5 separate regions of the Homo sapiens genome follow, and regions 1, 2, 3 and 4 are each linked to region 5. The links are contacts of gene promoters, found by promoter capture Hi-C in blood cells and fetal thymus (Javierre and others, 2016). All regions are on one chromosome and are shown on one strand. The core of a region is centred on a gene start or on the middle of the fragment in contact, and the rest is flanking DNA. Distances in the headings are between cores, read along the strand shown.

What was found. Contacts are between HindIII fragments. The CHiCAGO score rates a contact against its expected background, and 5 or more counts as called.
Region 1: a contact is called between a fragment that was not itself captured here and the fragment with the promoter of ARL14EP in region 5, in 1 of 17 cell types (non-activated CD4 T cells). The highest score is 5.6, in non-activated CD4 T cells.
Region 2: a contact is called between a fragment that was not itself captured here and the fragment with the promoter of ARL14EP in region 5, in 2 of 17 cell types (naive CD8 T cells and non-activated CD4 T cells). The highest score is 7.5, in naive CD8 T cells.
Region 3: the fragment with the promoter of SVIP here is called in contact with the fragment with the promoter of ARL14EP in region 5 in 3 of 17 cell types (total B cells, naive B cells and total CD8 T cells); the score reaches 9.2 in total B cells.
Region 4: a contact is called between the fragment with the promoter of TRIM44 here and the fragment with the promoter of ARL14EP in region 5, in 2 of 17 cell types (total CD4 T cells and non-activated CD4 T cells). The highest score is 15.0, in total CD4 T cells.

Annotation. Positions count from the first base shown.
Region 1 is chr11:22,632,118-22,634,817 of GRCh38, reverse strand. It overlaps a transcript of GAS2 not described here. Among named protein-coding and RNA genes, the nearest start is that of FANCF, 7.6 kb to the right of the region's middle. The HindIII fragment of the contact is 205 bases long and covers 1,158-1,362 here.
Region 2 is chr11:36,505,163-36,507,862 of GRCh38, reverse strand. All of the region lies in intron 1 of TRAF6 (TNF receptor associated factor 6), which reads left to right. Among named protein-coding and RNA genes, the nearest start is that of TRAF6, 3.8 kb to the left of the region's middle. The HindIII fragment of the contact is 528 bases long and covers 1,052-1,579 here.
Region 3 is chr11:22,828,477-22,831,176 of GRCh38, reverse strand. It overlaps SVIP (small VCP interacting protein), which reads left to right and starts at 1,376. Exons shown (of 4, transcript NM_148893.3): 1 at 1,376-1,482. The coding sequence starts at 1,429. It overlaps LINC02718 (long intergenic non-protein coding RNA 2718), which reads right to left and starts at 1,763. Exons shown (of 11, transcript NR_187210.1): 1 at 1,566-1,763. RefSeq lists a silencer at 1,252-1,321 and an enhancer at 1,472-1,781. The HindIII fragment of the contact is 1,537 bases long and covers 1,059-2,595 here.
Region 4 is chr11:35,661,513-35,664,212 of GRCh38, reverse strand. TRIM44 (tripartite motif containing 44) reads right to left here and starts at 1,438. Exons shown (of 5, transcript NM_017583.6): 1 at 433-1,438. The coding sequence starts at 1,101. RefSeq lists enhancers at 750-1,250, 1,462-1,781 and a silencer at 1,042-1,421. The HindIII fragment of the contact is 12,326 bases long and covers 1-2,415 here.
Region 5 is chr11:30,321,674-30,324,373 of GRCh38, reverse strand. It overlaps ARL14EP (ARF like GTPase 14 effector protein), which reads right to left and starts at 1,270. Exons shown (of 4, transcript NM_152316.3): 1 at 1,172-1,270. It overlaps ARL14EP-DT (ARL14EP divergent transcript), which reads left to right and starts at 1,428. Exons shown (of 2, transcript NR_187437.1): 1 at 1,428-1,456. RefSeq lists a silencer at 1,041-1,170 and enhancers at 1,241-1,490, 1,003-1,608. The HindIII fragment of the contact is 9,349 bases long and covers 1-2,700 here.

The sequences.
Region 1 (2,700 bases), core at 11-2,510, 7.7 Mb after region 5:
AAAATCTCACAGAGTCTACATCACTCCCCTGCCACCCCCATCAGAACTTCTGCTGGTACCCACTACTGTGAGATTAGAGAACAGGTCCTATCACTGGATCCCTTCCAGACATTCCCCAGCACCATCCTGGAGAATGGCAGCCCCACTGGGTGGCTAGAATCAGAAGAGCAGCAGCAGGATTCACAGTAGTTTGGCCCTCAGGGATCCCTCCTCCTAGGGGAAGTGGGAATATACCACATCAAGGGAGCACCCCGTGAGACCAAAGAATCCAGACTGCAGGCCTTGAGTCCCAAAACTGTCTATTTGTGGGGAGTTTATTTCAGCAAAGGCACAACAGGTGCAGTGTGGGGCTCAGTGGAGAAAGTTTGTGCCTCTACTCCAACTGTCAGCTAGCCCTGGTGCTCATGAAGGAACCTGGGGAAGAAGACTTTTTCTTCCTGATATGGTTTGGTTGTGTCCCCACCCAAATCTTATCTTGAATTGTAGCTCCCATAATTCCCACATGTTGTGGGAGGAACCCAGTGGGAGATAACTGAATCATGGGAGCAGTTTCCCCCATTATGTTCTCATGGTAGTGACTAAGTATCACAAGATCTGATGGTTTTATAAGCGGAAACCCCTTTCACTTGGCTCTCATTCTCTCTTTGCTGGCCACTGTGTAAGACATCCCTTTGCTCTTCCTTCATGTTCCGCCATGAATGTGAGGCCTCCCCAGCCACGTGGAACTGTGAATCAACTAAACCTCTTTTCTTTATAAATTGCCCAGTCTTGGGTATGTCTTCCTCAGCAGTTTGAAAACAGACTAATACACTTCCTCTTGCCCATCACTGCAAACATAGCTGTGGCTTCTCCCACAAGAGCTTGGCATGGGTACACATGTAGAGAGGCTTCCTGGAACACTTTCGGGTGACTGCATCCCCACAGGAGGAGTGCCCTCCAGGTGCAGACTTACATGAGGGATAGAGTCATAGTCCTTTTCTACATGTAACATCACCATTCCTACAGAAGAAAAGGGATGCCTGTCTCATCTGAATAGCTAGAACACTGGGTCAGGAGTGTGACTGGGAGTTGGATCACTTTCCTGCTGGCCTGGTTGGGGAACTACAGTGGCTCCTCCCTTCACCCTGAAAAGACCTTAGTGCATTTCACTGAAAGCTTCTCCAGCTGCCTCTGTCAAGGTTAGGACCTCTGCCCATCACTGGATATTGCATTCCACACCTGCTTTAGCTGCAGCCTGTTTTTACCCATGAACACCTCCTACTGGCCTGAAGCCTGAACTGTTCAACCCAGTGAATAAAATACTGGGAAAATAAATAAATTAATTAATGAATTAATGTACACCACTGGGGAACAAAATAAGCTTTGTGACATCTTTGTCATTCTGGCCCCATAGGAGACAGTAAACCTGCTCACACACTGAGCACATTGCTACTATAACCAGCATCTGAGAAGGCCATCACACCAAGGAGTTCATACAGATGTTTCACACAGATTCTTCATCACTGAAAACACCAAGAGCTGAAATAGGCTAAAATAAACTATAAACATTACAGTCATATCCTCAAGAGGGAAAAACAGAAATTGAAAAACCACATTTGAATAAAAAATAAATTCAAGAAGTAATTAGAAGAAATGGTCTACCCAAATGAGAAGAAATCAGAAAAACAACTCTAGCAATATGTAAAAACATGATTCTATAACACCACAAAGATTCCACTGACTCTCCAGCGATGGATCCAAACTAAGATGAAATCTTTAAAATACCAGATAAAGAGTTCAAGAGGTTGATTATTAAGTTCCTCAAGGAAATACAAGAAAAAGGTGAAAAACAACACAATAAAATGTAAAAGAAAATCAGGTTATGAATGAAAGATTTCCTAAACAGATTGATATTTTAAAGAAAAAAAAAATCAGAACTCTGGAAACAAAAGACACATTTAGGGAATTACGAAATGCAGGGAAAAGTTTTAACATTAGACTAGACCATGTGGAATAAAGAATTCCAGAACTTGAAAACAAGGTTTTTGAATTAACCCAATCACACAAAAATAAAAAAAAAAAGAATGAAAAGAAACGAATAAAATCTCTAAGAAACATGGGATTATGTAAAAGGGCCAACCTAAGAATTATTGATGCTCCTGAGTGGGAAGAAAAAGCAAAAAGTTTTGAAAACTTATTTATTTGAGGGAATAATTAAGGAAAACTTCCCTGGCTTTGCCAGCAATTTAGATATTCAAATACAAAAACCTCAAACAACTCCTGGGAAATGCATTGCAAAAAGGCCAACACCAAGAGCTAAAGTCATCAGGCTATCTAAAATCAATGTGAAGAAAAGAATTCCAAGAGCAGTGTGAAAAAAGCATCAGGTAACCTACAAGGTAAAACCTTTTAGACTAACAGCAGACTTCTCAGCAGAAGCCTTATAAGCCAGAAAGGGCTATGGTCCTATTTTAGCCTCCTTAAACAGAATAACTATCAGCCAACAATTTTGTATCCAGTAAAGCTAAGTTTCATAAATGAAGGAAAAATAAACTGTTTCTCAGACAAGCAAATGCTAAGGGAATATGTCACTGTTTGACTATTAGCTAGTTTAACCAAGAAAAGAAGAGAGAAGATCCAAATAAGCTAAATTAGAAATGAAAATGGAGATGTTACAACCAACCCCAAAGAAATAAAAAATATCCTTCAAGACTACGAAGA
Region 2 (2,700 bases), core at 66-2,565, 6.2 Mb before region 5:
TGTGTATATATATGTATATATATACACATATATAAAATACATGTATATATGTGTATATATACACATATATAATATATACATATATTTGTATATGTTTATATGTATAATACATGTATGTATGTGTATATATACATATATACACGCGCGTGTATGTATACATATATACACGCTCGTGTATGTATACATATATACACGCGCGTGTGTATGTATACATATATACACGCGCGTGTATGTATACATATATACACGCGCGTGTATGTATACATATATACACGCGCGTGTATGTATACATATACATGTATATATACGTGTATACACGTATATATACATATATACATGTATATATGCATGTATACACGTATATATACATATATACATTTATGTATGTATAATACATGTATATATATATACATTTATGTATGTATAATACATGTATATATACATATATACATTTATGTATGTATAATACATGTATATATACATATATACATTTATGTATGTATAATACATGTATATATACATATATACATTTATGTATGTATAATACATGTATATATACATATATACATTTATGTATGTATAATACATGTATATATACATATATACATTTATGTATGTATAATACATGTATATATACATATATACATTTATGTATGTATAATACATGTATATATACATATATACATTTATGTATGTATAATACATGTATATATACATATATACATTTATGTATGTATAATACATGTATATATACATATATACACGTATATACATTTATGTGTATATACGTATATATACAAAGCACTTTTTGTTCTTCTCTTAGTGTTAGTTATCGTTATAATTAAGTTAGGTGATTTTTCCTTAAGTCATTGCAGTTCTTAAAACTAAAGGGACAAAATGTTTTACCAAAGAAAGAGGAAACAAAAATGCTAAGTGGCAGTCAAGAATTGTTTTTAACTTAATTTTCCCTTTATGTCTAGTTACATGAAACTAAATACTGTGGACTTAAAGGATAACTATATGAAAAAGTTTATTTGGAAAATAGAAAGCTTCTGGATTGCATCTTAAAGCGTGGAAAGTAATGTGAAACTTGAAGGCAAATAGATTTTGAACATGCTCACTTTTATGTGTCACACTGCATTCCCACAGTGGAGTTCCTTTTAAGGAATTATAACTGATTAGACAGATTTTCTTAGGAACACATTAGCTATAAAAGGTCTCTTCAGACCTAAAGACCTTCAAGCCTTTTGAACTGGACTGGAAGCAGGCAGTGTATAGACTATCCAATAAACTATATTTTAAACTGGACATTTGGGCAGAAAAGAAAAGATACACCTAGCTTCATAATTTCTGCCTTTGTCTTGTGGCCAGCACTTGGATATATGTCCTACACCAAATAACAAATACTAATTTCTCAAAAGTGATTTTACTTAAAAAAAAAATGGTTCAAGACTGAAATATACCTGATGTTGTCAAGCGTAGAGAAAATGGACTCTTGCATATATACTGTGCTTGTGTGAGTGGAAATTAGAATGTCTTTGATACATATTAGATAACCAGCATTATCTATCAGAAAGCTTAAAAAGTTACATACCCTCTGATCCAACAATTCTACCTCTAGGAAATTTACCTAAGGAAGTAATTGGACACAGAAATGTACAGATATACCTCATTTTATAGCACTGGTTTTTTGCACTTCCCGGATACTTTTTTGTTTTTTTTTTTTAACATATTGAAGATTTATGTCAACCCTGTGTTGTGCAAGTCTTTGCACGCCATTTTTCCAACAGCGTGTGCTCACTTTGTATTTGTCTGTCACATTTTTGTAATTCTTGGAATATTTTAAACTTTATTATGTCTGTTATAGTGATCTGTGATCAGCGATCTTTGATGTTACTATTGTAATTGTTGTTTTGGAGTACATGCACCACACCCATATGAGATGATGAACTTAATAAATGTGAGAGCTCTGACTGCTCCACTGACCAGCTGGTTCCCTTACTGTCCCTCTCCTCAGGCCTCCCTACTCCCCTGAGACACAGCAATATTGAAATTAGACCAATTAATAATCCTACAATGGCCTCTAAGTGTTCAAGTAAACCAAAGAGCCACATGTCTGTCACTTTAAATCAAAAGCTAGAAATAATTATGCTTACTGAAGAAGGCACATCAGAAGTCAAAATGGGCCATTTAGCCAAATTGTGAATAGAAAGGAAAAGTTTTTGAAGGAAATTAAAAGTGGTACTCCAGTGAACTCACTAATAAGAAAGTGAAACAGCCTTATTGCTGATATGGAGAAAGTTGTAATGGTCTGGATGGAAGATCAAACTAGCCACAACATTTCCTTAATCCAAAACCTAATCCAGAGCAAGGTCCTAATTCTCTTCAATTCTGTAAAGTTTGAGAGAGGTGAGGAAGCTGCAAAAGAAAAGTTGGAAGCTAACAGAGATTGGTTTATGAGGTTTAAGGAAAGAAACGCATCTCCGTAACATAAAAGTGCAAGATGAAAGAGCAAGTGTTGATGTAAAACTACAGCACATTATCTAGAAGATCTAGCTACGATCGTTGATGAAGGTGGCTACACCAGACAACAAATTTTCAGTGTATACTTAACAGCCTTTTATTGGAAAAAGATGCCACCTAGGATGTTCATAGCTACAGACAAGTCTATTCCTGGCTTCAAAATTTTAAAGGACAGGC
Region 3 (2,700 bases), core at 127-2,626, 7.5 Mb after region 5:
TTATTTACCCTTAGAAACGGCCCATGCAATCGAATAATAGTATTAAAAAAGCATCATCCCCTATTATTTAAGGAATAAACTACTGTTTCATTCAATAACATGGAAGAATTTAGAAAATATTATGGCTTTTGCAAAACATATTGTATATTTCATTTATGTAAAACTTAAAGACTATAGTGATATTAACATTTATGCAAAACTTAAAGACTAAAGTGATATTAAACAAATTAATAGTTTCCTGGATCTAGGTATAGGATAAAGTATTGAATGGGATTGGGTACAATAGAAGGTTTTTGGGTGATGGAAAACTTACATATCTTGAATGTGGTGATCACATGTTTGTTAAAACTCAGTGAACTCTACAATCAAAATAAGTGCATAATATTATATGTAAATTATACATCTATAAAAAATTAACCAGCAAGTATATCAAAAAGCCGACAATGGTTTCTGAGACGCTGTCACTATACATCCTACCTTTTTGTAATGTTTGAAAATTTTTACATAAGCAGAAATAACTAATAGAATGCAAAAATAAAATAAAATAAAATAAAAGCATTTGTGTGGAGACGAGATCAGTAACTTTAGTATCACCTGTGGGTTTACTGGAAATGAATCTCAGGTCCCACCTTATACTTACTAAATCAGCAAGTAAATTTTAACTAGTTGCCCAGCTGATTCTCATACTTATTAAAATTTGAGGAGAATCATTAAAACATTTCTCAGTAGATGAAACTTTATTATTTCTCTCGGAAGGATAAATGACTTCTAAATACCAGAAACTAGTGGAAATGTCAACTAATGCCACATTTATGACGCTAGATTCATCGTCATAATAATGGATTTTATATTCTGCCCTCTGTTCTGGAATAGCACTGTCACTAAGAAGGGAGAAAAGGGTGCTGATGTTTACTTGGAATTTTGGCTTTAATTTCTAGGACACCAGAGTCCCATCTCATAAAAAAAGGTAGCATGAACTACCCAGAGCTGTACCACTCATTCATTTATAAATGGTAAGGCAAGGTTAGCAGGAAGAGCTTTGGAACCGTAGCGAAGCTTTTCCATCCCTTCCCTGCATTGCTACCCACAGCAGGTGTTTCCTGGAACCTAGGCTTTGGCCACAAGCCCAGCGGTCGCGGGGCGGGGGTAGGCGGAGCTGTGGGTGAGGAAGGGGCAATGCCTTAAGGGGGCGCAGCTGAGCTGTGGGACTGGTTGGTGTCGCGAGAAGAGGGGGGCGTTGCCGCAGAGAGGCGAGGCGGGGCAGAGCTGCGGGGTGGGGGCGGGGCGTTGCCGCTGGGGCGGAGCCGAGCCAGTGGAGGGCGGTGGGGGCGGGGCAAGCGCGGAGGACCAGGGACCGGCTCCGGACCGCGCAGTTAGCGCCGCCTGGCCTGGGCCGGACCCGGTCAGGGTTCTCAAGCTGTCGTCCCTATGGGGCTGTGTTTTCCTTGTCCCGGGGAGTCCGCGCCTCCCACGCCGGACCTGGTGAGTAGAGCAGGTCCCTGCGTCCGCCGGGCCGCGCCTTGAGCACCTGTCCTCGGGTTGCGGGGCGGGCCGAGCCATTGTACCTGGTGGCGCAGGTCGAGAGCCCGCTGGGGGACCCTGCTAGCGAGGACGGGTGGACGCGTCAGGAGGGTCGTTGGGTCCTGTCAGAGCGACCTAGGCCGTCGCCTCCGTGTAGATCTCCACTTTTGTAACAAAAAGTTGTCGAAAGGCGGCTGTGGCGTCTTTCTACCTTCCACTGACTTTAGCTGCGCCGGATCTTCATAGGGCGCCGGCGCACGCAGAGGGCGTTACGCGTGGGACATTCCGGGGGATGTGGTAGATGGAATTCGGCGCGAAAAGACATTGCTTTCTCCGGGAGCTCTTTAGTCGTCTAGGAGATGTGCGTTTTCAACTGTGTCTACCATCTTTTAAAAGAAGGTGCTCGGAAAGTCGCTTATACGCCTGAGCTTTATCGGATATGTTTTTTTAATGATTTCTTTTTAGTATTTATCTCATTCTTTTACGTTCTCCCTTTAAAAGAATATGTAGTACAGAGTGTCCAATTTATAATGTCGTATTTAATAAAAATACTGGACACCCAGTTACATTCGAATTTCAGATATACAAGGAATACGTTTATAATATCGTTTTGTGCCATGCAATATTAGGGATCTAGTTCTACAAAAACATTACTCATTGCTTATCTGAAATTCAAATGTAGCTAGTGGGTGTGTGGTACAATACATGTACACTTTTTGTAGCTTTCTGTTAACAGTATCTTTACATTAGTACTCCTTACAGGGAGTTAACATAAACCTGTTTCTCTTCTCTAGCTAAAAATTAGTTGAAGAAAATGAAGTATTTTTGGGAAGTACATTAACTCTTCAGCTACTATAGATACTAAAAATTTAGTACTTATAAATTTGATGTGGGAAAGTTCAGCTTCTCTTTGTTGCTGCTGTTGTTTTAAATTAAGTTGATTTTGTTGTTCTGGCTGTCGATAAAATATAACATGTCAGATTTGTTAAGCCCTCCCCCCCATCCTCATACTATACCCTCTTCCCTTGATAACCACACGGCTCACTGCTTGGATGTCACTTTACCAGTGAAGCTTTTGCTGACCACGTTAAACAAAATATATTCCCCACAATACCACCCACCCATTCTCCCATTACTTATCTGCCATGCCATCTGACAGACGTTTACTTACTTCATTAT
Region 4 (2,700 bases), core at 189-2,688, 5.3 Mb before region 5:
ACGTATCACTTGCTTGGATTCATGTGGCAAAATCCTATTTCCCATGTTTTCAAGTAGGCAAAAAGATTGCCTTATCAAGAGCCCTAGCACAAAGCACCAGTTTCAACAATAGTGATGCTGTGGAAATTGGCCTAAGTGGGGTCAAAACTCCCAAGAAATGCTTTACCTGGGATCCACAGACCAGAAACTTGCAATTTTCTAGAAATTGTATACTAGATTTTGTGTGTATTTTCTCAGGTCAGAGTCCAGAACTTTCATCAGATTCTCAAAAGAGTTCAACCAAAAACGGTGAATAAGAACTGCTCCCAAAAAGTTGGAAAGACTAGCTTCTTAGGGACACAGTGAAAGCGAATGTGGTCACAGCCAGGCCACCTGAGTTGAAACCCAGGTGTCCTGACCCCTAGGTTTATGCTCTGAAGGCCCAATACTTACTCTTAATTCTTCAAAGGCTTCGTCTAGGGTGGAGAGTTGGTGGCCCTGGTGAGCCCCAATGACTGGACACAGGACACAGATGAGCTGCCTATCTTCCTGGCAATAGGTACTCAAATCAAGCCCATGGTCCGGACACTTCCTCTTGGCCACTCTCTCTGCTTCCATTTCTATTTCTGGGTCAAATTCACTTTCTGCCTCAGTTTCTCCCTCCGCCTCGGATTCCCCTTCTTCTTGGTTGTCTTCTTCGGCCTCGCTTTCTTGCTCATCCTCCATTTCTTCCTCGCTGTCTTCTTCACTCTCCTCATCGCTCTCATCCTCACTCTCTTCCTCTGTCTCGCTCTCTTCCTCTGACTCGCTCTCTTCCTCCGACTCACTCTCTTCCCCTGCCTCGCTTTCTATCTCCCTCTCCTGCTCCACCTTGACCTCCGCTTCTTCCTTCCCCGCCCCCTCTCCGTCAGCTGGCGGGGTCCAGGCCTGGGAGCCGTGGACGTATTCGGCCAGATGGTGACTGAGGAACTTCTGCCTGTGCGCCTCGGCATGGCGGCGGCAGTAGCAGAAGCCGCATTCTCGGCACACTTCCTCGGCCCCCGGAGCCTCGTCGGGCTCGCACTCGTCACACGTGCCGTCGTGAGGCAGTTCCTCGAAGGCCGCGCCCACTCCAGAGGCCATGTGGGTGCTGTGACGCGGCCAAGGCCTCGGGGCCCCGGGGCTCGCCGCCTTCCTTCCGCGCGGCCTCACTTCCTCCTCCCGCCCCGGGTCCCTTCCTAGGGAGTCGCCTCCCGCCTGGACCGCGCCGCGTCTCGAAGCGGGACCTGGGGCCGCGGCAGCCCCTGCCCGGGCGCAGCAGCAAAGACCCTTTCCGCCGGCTCGGCCTGCTCCGCTCTGTCCCTGCGCTTCCTCTGCCGCGCAAGGCACTTCCGGCGCGGCCACCCGGCGCCCCCGTCGGCCCCCGCGTCGCGCCGCCCGCTCAGCCTCCCGCTACCAGGGAGAGATCGCGGCAGCCGCCGGCCCCCGCGCCGCCCCGGTTCCACTTTCCCTTTCCCCGTCAGGAGGCCTCCTTTTACTTCCTGAGTCATTTAAAGTGGCAATGACCCTTTTCTGCTTTTCCCGCGGGGCTCAGCTCCTCCGCTCCAAATCTCAGCGTGCCTTGGAGGAGGAGGAGGGAGAAGGAGGATGGAGGAAGTCTCTTACTCTCTCCAGAAGCAGGAATTGGGCTCCACCTCCCCCATTCCCTCCCTGGAAGTGTCAACTTGAGTTTTCACGGCCACTAGGCTGGTGTCCCTGTGCATTTCAGTCTCTCTTGTGCCAATTTGTCGCCGCCCGTCACAGTCCCCAGTGTTCTGCAAGGTGCCCGGACAGTGTTGTTTACCAGACTGAACCTGACCTCTTGGGATTTCCTGAGTGCGGAAGGGCTATGTTTGTTCTAGGCTAGGGGAATTGGAGTTAGGATGAGCAAACAAATATTTTCGATCCAAAGCAATACTGTGCTTTGTCTATTTGCATTGCTACCTCCTAGGATCTCAGAATTTCTGGGGTGGTAACCTCTGTGCGGTTTTCTGAGAGCTGCCTTCGGTTGGGCAGAGACGTCAGGTGAAGTGAGGTGGGGAGAGGCAGTATTTGTCGAGTGACAGGTCCAGGTTGCAGTCATTTTCCTTTATGTAAGGTGTCCCTCTAGATTCCCACTGGGCTCTAAGAGAAAAGAAGGGAACTGTTGTTTATAAAGCAGTACTGTAGTGCCAAGAACCCGGCTACATCTTTTTGTGGCTCTTTAAAAGCCGGTTTTGGAAGATCCTCTGCCCGATGGTCCCCAAATCCTGGTGCCACTACCTATCAGTTTTATGACCATGGACAAGTTAATTCATCATTCTGTTTTCCGCTTTTTAAAAAAGATGTTAAGTGAAAAGAACGGTAAATATCTACCTCATGGGGTAGTTTTGTGGATTAAATGTAACGATGCCTGCACTGTAGAGTATTCACTAAGCTTTCATTATTATTTTTGGCACAAATTATATTTAGTGCTCACAATGCCCCTTTGAAGGAACATATTTTACACACACAGGGCATTTTCGGCTGGCTGCTGGTAATGTAGGCAAGTCTCCACCTCTACCCCATATCCATGTCTCTCCATTCACAGAAGAGTTTTTGTTTTGCACTGTATTTGGGAGAGGGAAAATTACGTTTTTATCTAGTCAAGGGAGAGGCTGAGGTGTATTAAGAAGGATGAAAGGGGATGGAATGGTGTCTGTTTTACATTGATTCCCTTAGATG
Region 5 (2,700 bases), core at 21-2,520:
GGAAAAGTAACATTTAGAGGAAATTTAACAAAACAAAAAATTTACTTCGTTTTTAGGTCAACTGATGTCTCTTTTATGAAAAACATAAAAAAAGTTTTCATGAAATGTTTTATGAAAAAAATTAAAGGCTTTTCTTGGCATAGGGTCTTACAACTTACACAGCGTCTTCCCAGATTATCTCTTATTTAATAAAAATATAATTTAATCTACCCCTACTCCCCAAATCAGGAGCTTTAGTTATGGGTACATACGCCTACAAAAGTCACGCATCCTGCAACTGTGAACTTTTTGTGCCTGTCATCTTCAAATACTGATTACCTATAACATGACAATTGGCCCAAAGGCAAAGAGGAGAGTCTCAATCCTCAGGAAGATCTAGGTACAATAAGAAAGGTAAAGGCAATTTAAAACAAAAATATAGTCCATAACACCATTGAAAAGATTTGGTTCAAGTGTGGTAGTCAGGACATGCCAGGTACAGTGCTTAGGGCAAACATCATTTCAGGAACCTTCATAGCCACCCTGAGGAAAGTACTATCATTCTCATTTACAGATGAAGAAACTCAAGCCTAGAGCTGTTGTTATCATGCCTAACAGAGTGCCCCCAAACCCTGCAATGATTCCCAACCCAACCCTGTAAGAGGCCACATACATTTCTTCCTTAGTTCACGGCTATTTACAAATGACTAAAACCACCAGATCCGTCCAGTGGGCACCTACTAAGTTCATGGTACCGGGATGGAAAAATAAACATTAGCCTTTGGCCTCAAACGGCCAGGGTTGAAAGGATTCTGATTTGAAAAATTAAAAACAAAAATAGCAGAGATAAAGGCTGTCTACGGAGTTCAAGGCCACAATAACCCTAAGTAGTTCACGTCAAAATCGTAGCTTTGAAGGTCCTGGGCCTACAGGACAGGCGACGACCCTCAGAGAGGTCAGAGGCGGCAGAACCTGTGCTGGGCTTTGACACAAGGCGTTGCGTCGCAGATGAACTACGCGGGGGTAGGGGTGAGAGGCCCCGGCCAGCAGCTGGAAATCCCCCTCACGTGTGCGGGCCTCCTCTTCCACCTCTCCCCGGGTTCCCCCGTTACGCCGCCGGGCTCCCTCGCCACCCAGGGGCCTGTCTCCACTCTCCCACTCCTCTCCAGGGCCTCCCCCGTTCCCCTTCCACCTTAGCTTGAGCTCTCCTCCGCCCGGCTTCGGGCAAGATGCGAGTCCACACAGGCCACACTCGACCGACCGCTTCCCAGCCAGTCCCCGCGCTACCACTGAGAGGACGGCAAGCGCGGGCTAGAGGAGCTCAACGCCACCACAAAGAGACGTCCGGGAGAAGCCTAGAGCGGACACGAGGCTGGCCGCCTCCGGGGACGGAAGGGGCGGGGCGGTGTGAAGTGGCAAATGATTCAAGGCGAGGCAAGAGGTGCTTCAGATGCTGTCTTTTGCAGTCCTCCGAGAGGTTAGGGATGTGGGAGGTCCCTGGGGGCCATCTCTTACAAGACACAGTTTCCACTAAATTGGATCGTATTTGTACATCTCTACACCTGTGCGTGATAGTAAACTTTTGCACCCAAATACCCCGACCCCTGAAGGAGAGTGTGAGTTAAAAGGATCTGAAGAACGGACCCTTTGTTTAAGGTCTCACATTCTATTTCTTTAATTCAAGCGAAATATATTCCAAAATGCATCTTTTATTGTAAGCTATAAAAATAGCTATTACTTCGAGTAAAATGTAGGCTCCAGGAAGATGCTTGTAAATTTTCTCAGAACAGAAATGGTATTTTTATTGTATCCTTATTGTCTGTCACAGTATAGGTGCTCATTAATTTTTAAAGTGGGTTTTATTATCTAGAATCCAGGAGAACTGAAAGTCTCTTAAAGATTCTTGGCCTTTTAATTATCTTAAGGTCGGGATAGCAGGGAAACAAAAACTTGTTTTAAACTCCCAGTGAAAAATGAGGAACAGGTAAATAAGACAAGCCCCACCAAGGCCCAAGCGTGCTAGTAATTCTCTGCATCTACTGTAAGCTGTTTTCTGCAGTGCGTCTATGGTCCTCCCACCACTTTCATACTGCTCGCCGACTAGGCAAGCGATTTGATGCCTAGAACTAGGGAATGACAGAAAGGAAAAAACAATGAATAGTTTCTTCAACTGTGTCTGCAGGAGGTTGCATTCTGTAATTCTTTTACTGTTTACTTTGTGGTTGGCACTTTGTTAAGCAATGATTAGACAAAAACAAAATTTATTTCTGCTTCCAAGGAGCTCACAGACTAGTGAGAGAGGAATAAACAGTTAATCACAGTGTGGTGTGAAAAGTGTCATAACAGAAACACATGGATATAAACAGGATAAAATGATAGGGGCTAAAGCAGGAGCGTTCTGGGAGGAGATTAATGCCTGCATGGAACTTAATTTGATGCAATTGTGACTTCCTAGTAAACTAGGCAAGCTATCCTAAAGGTAATGAAACAGAGAAGGCTCACAGATCAAATTAAGATTATTAAATAATATAGCCTATTCAATTTAAGTATCCAGTGAAAAGGTGAAAGAGTTGTGGTAAGTGGACACACTTAGGATAAGGTGCAAGCAAGTGGAAGGACGCCATCACCTGAATCATGGGTTAAGTAATGTTCATATATCCTATCTGCCACAACAGCCTTCTCCGCTGGTGGTATACTTACGAGGACCAGAGGTGAGGTGTC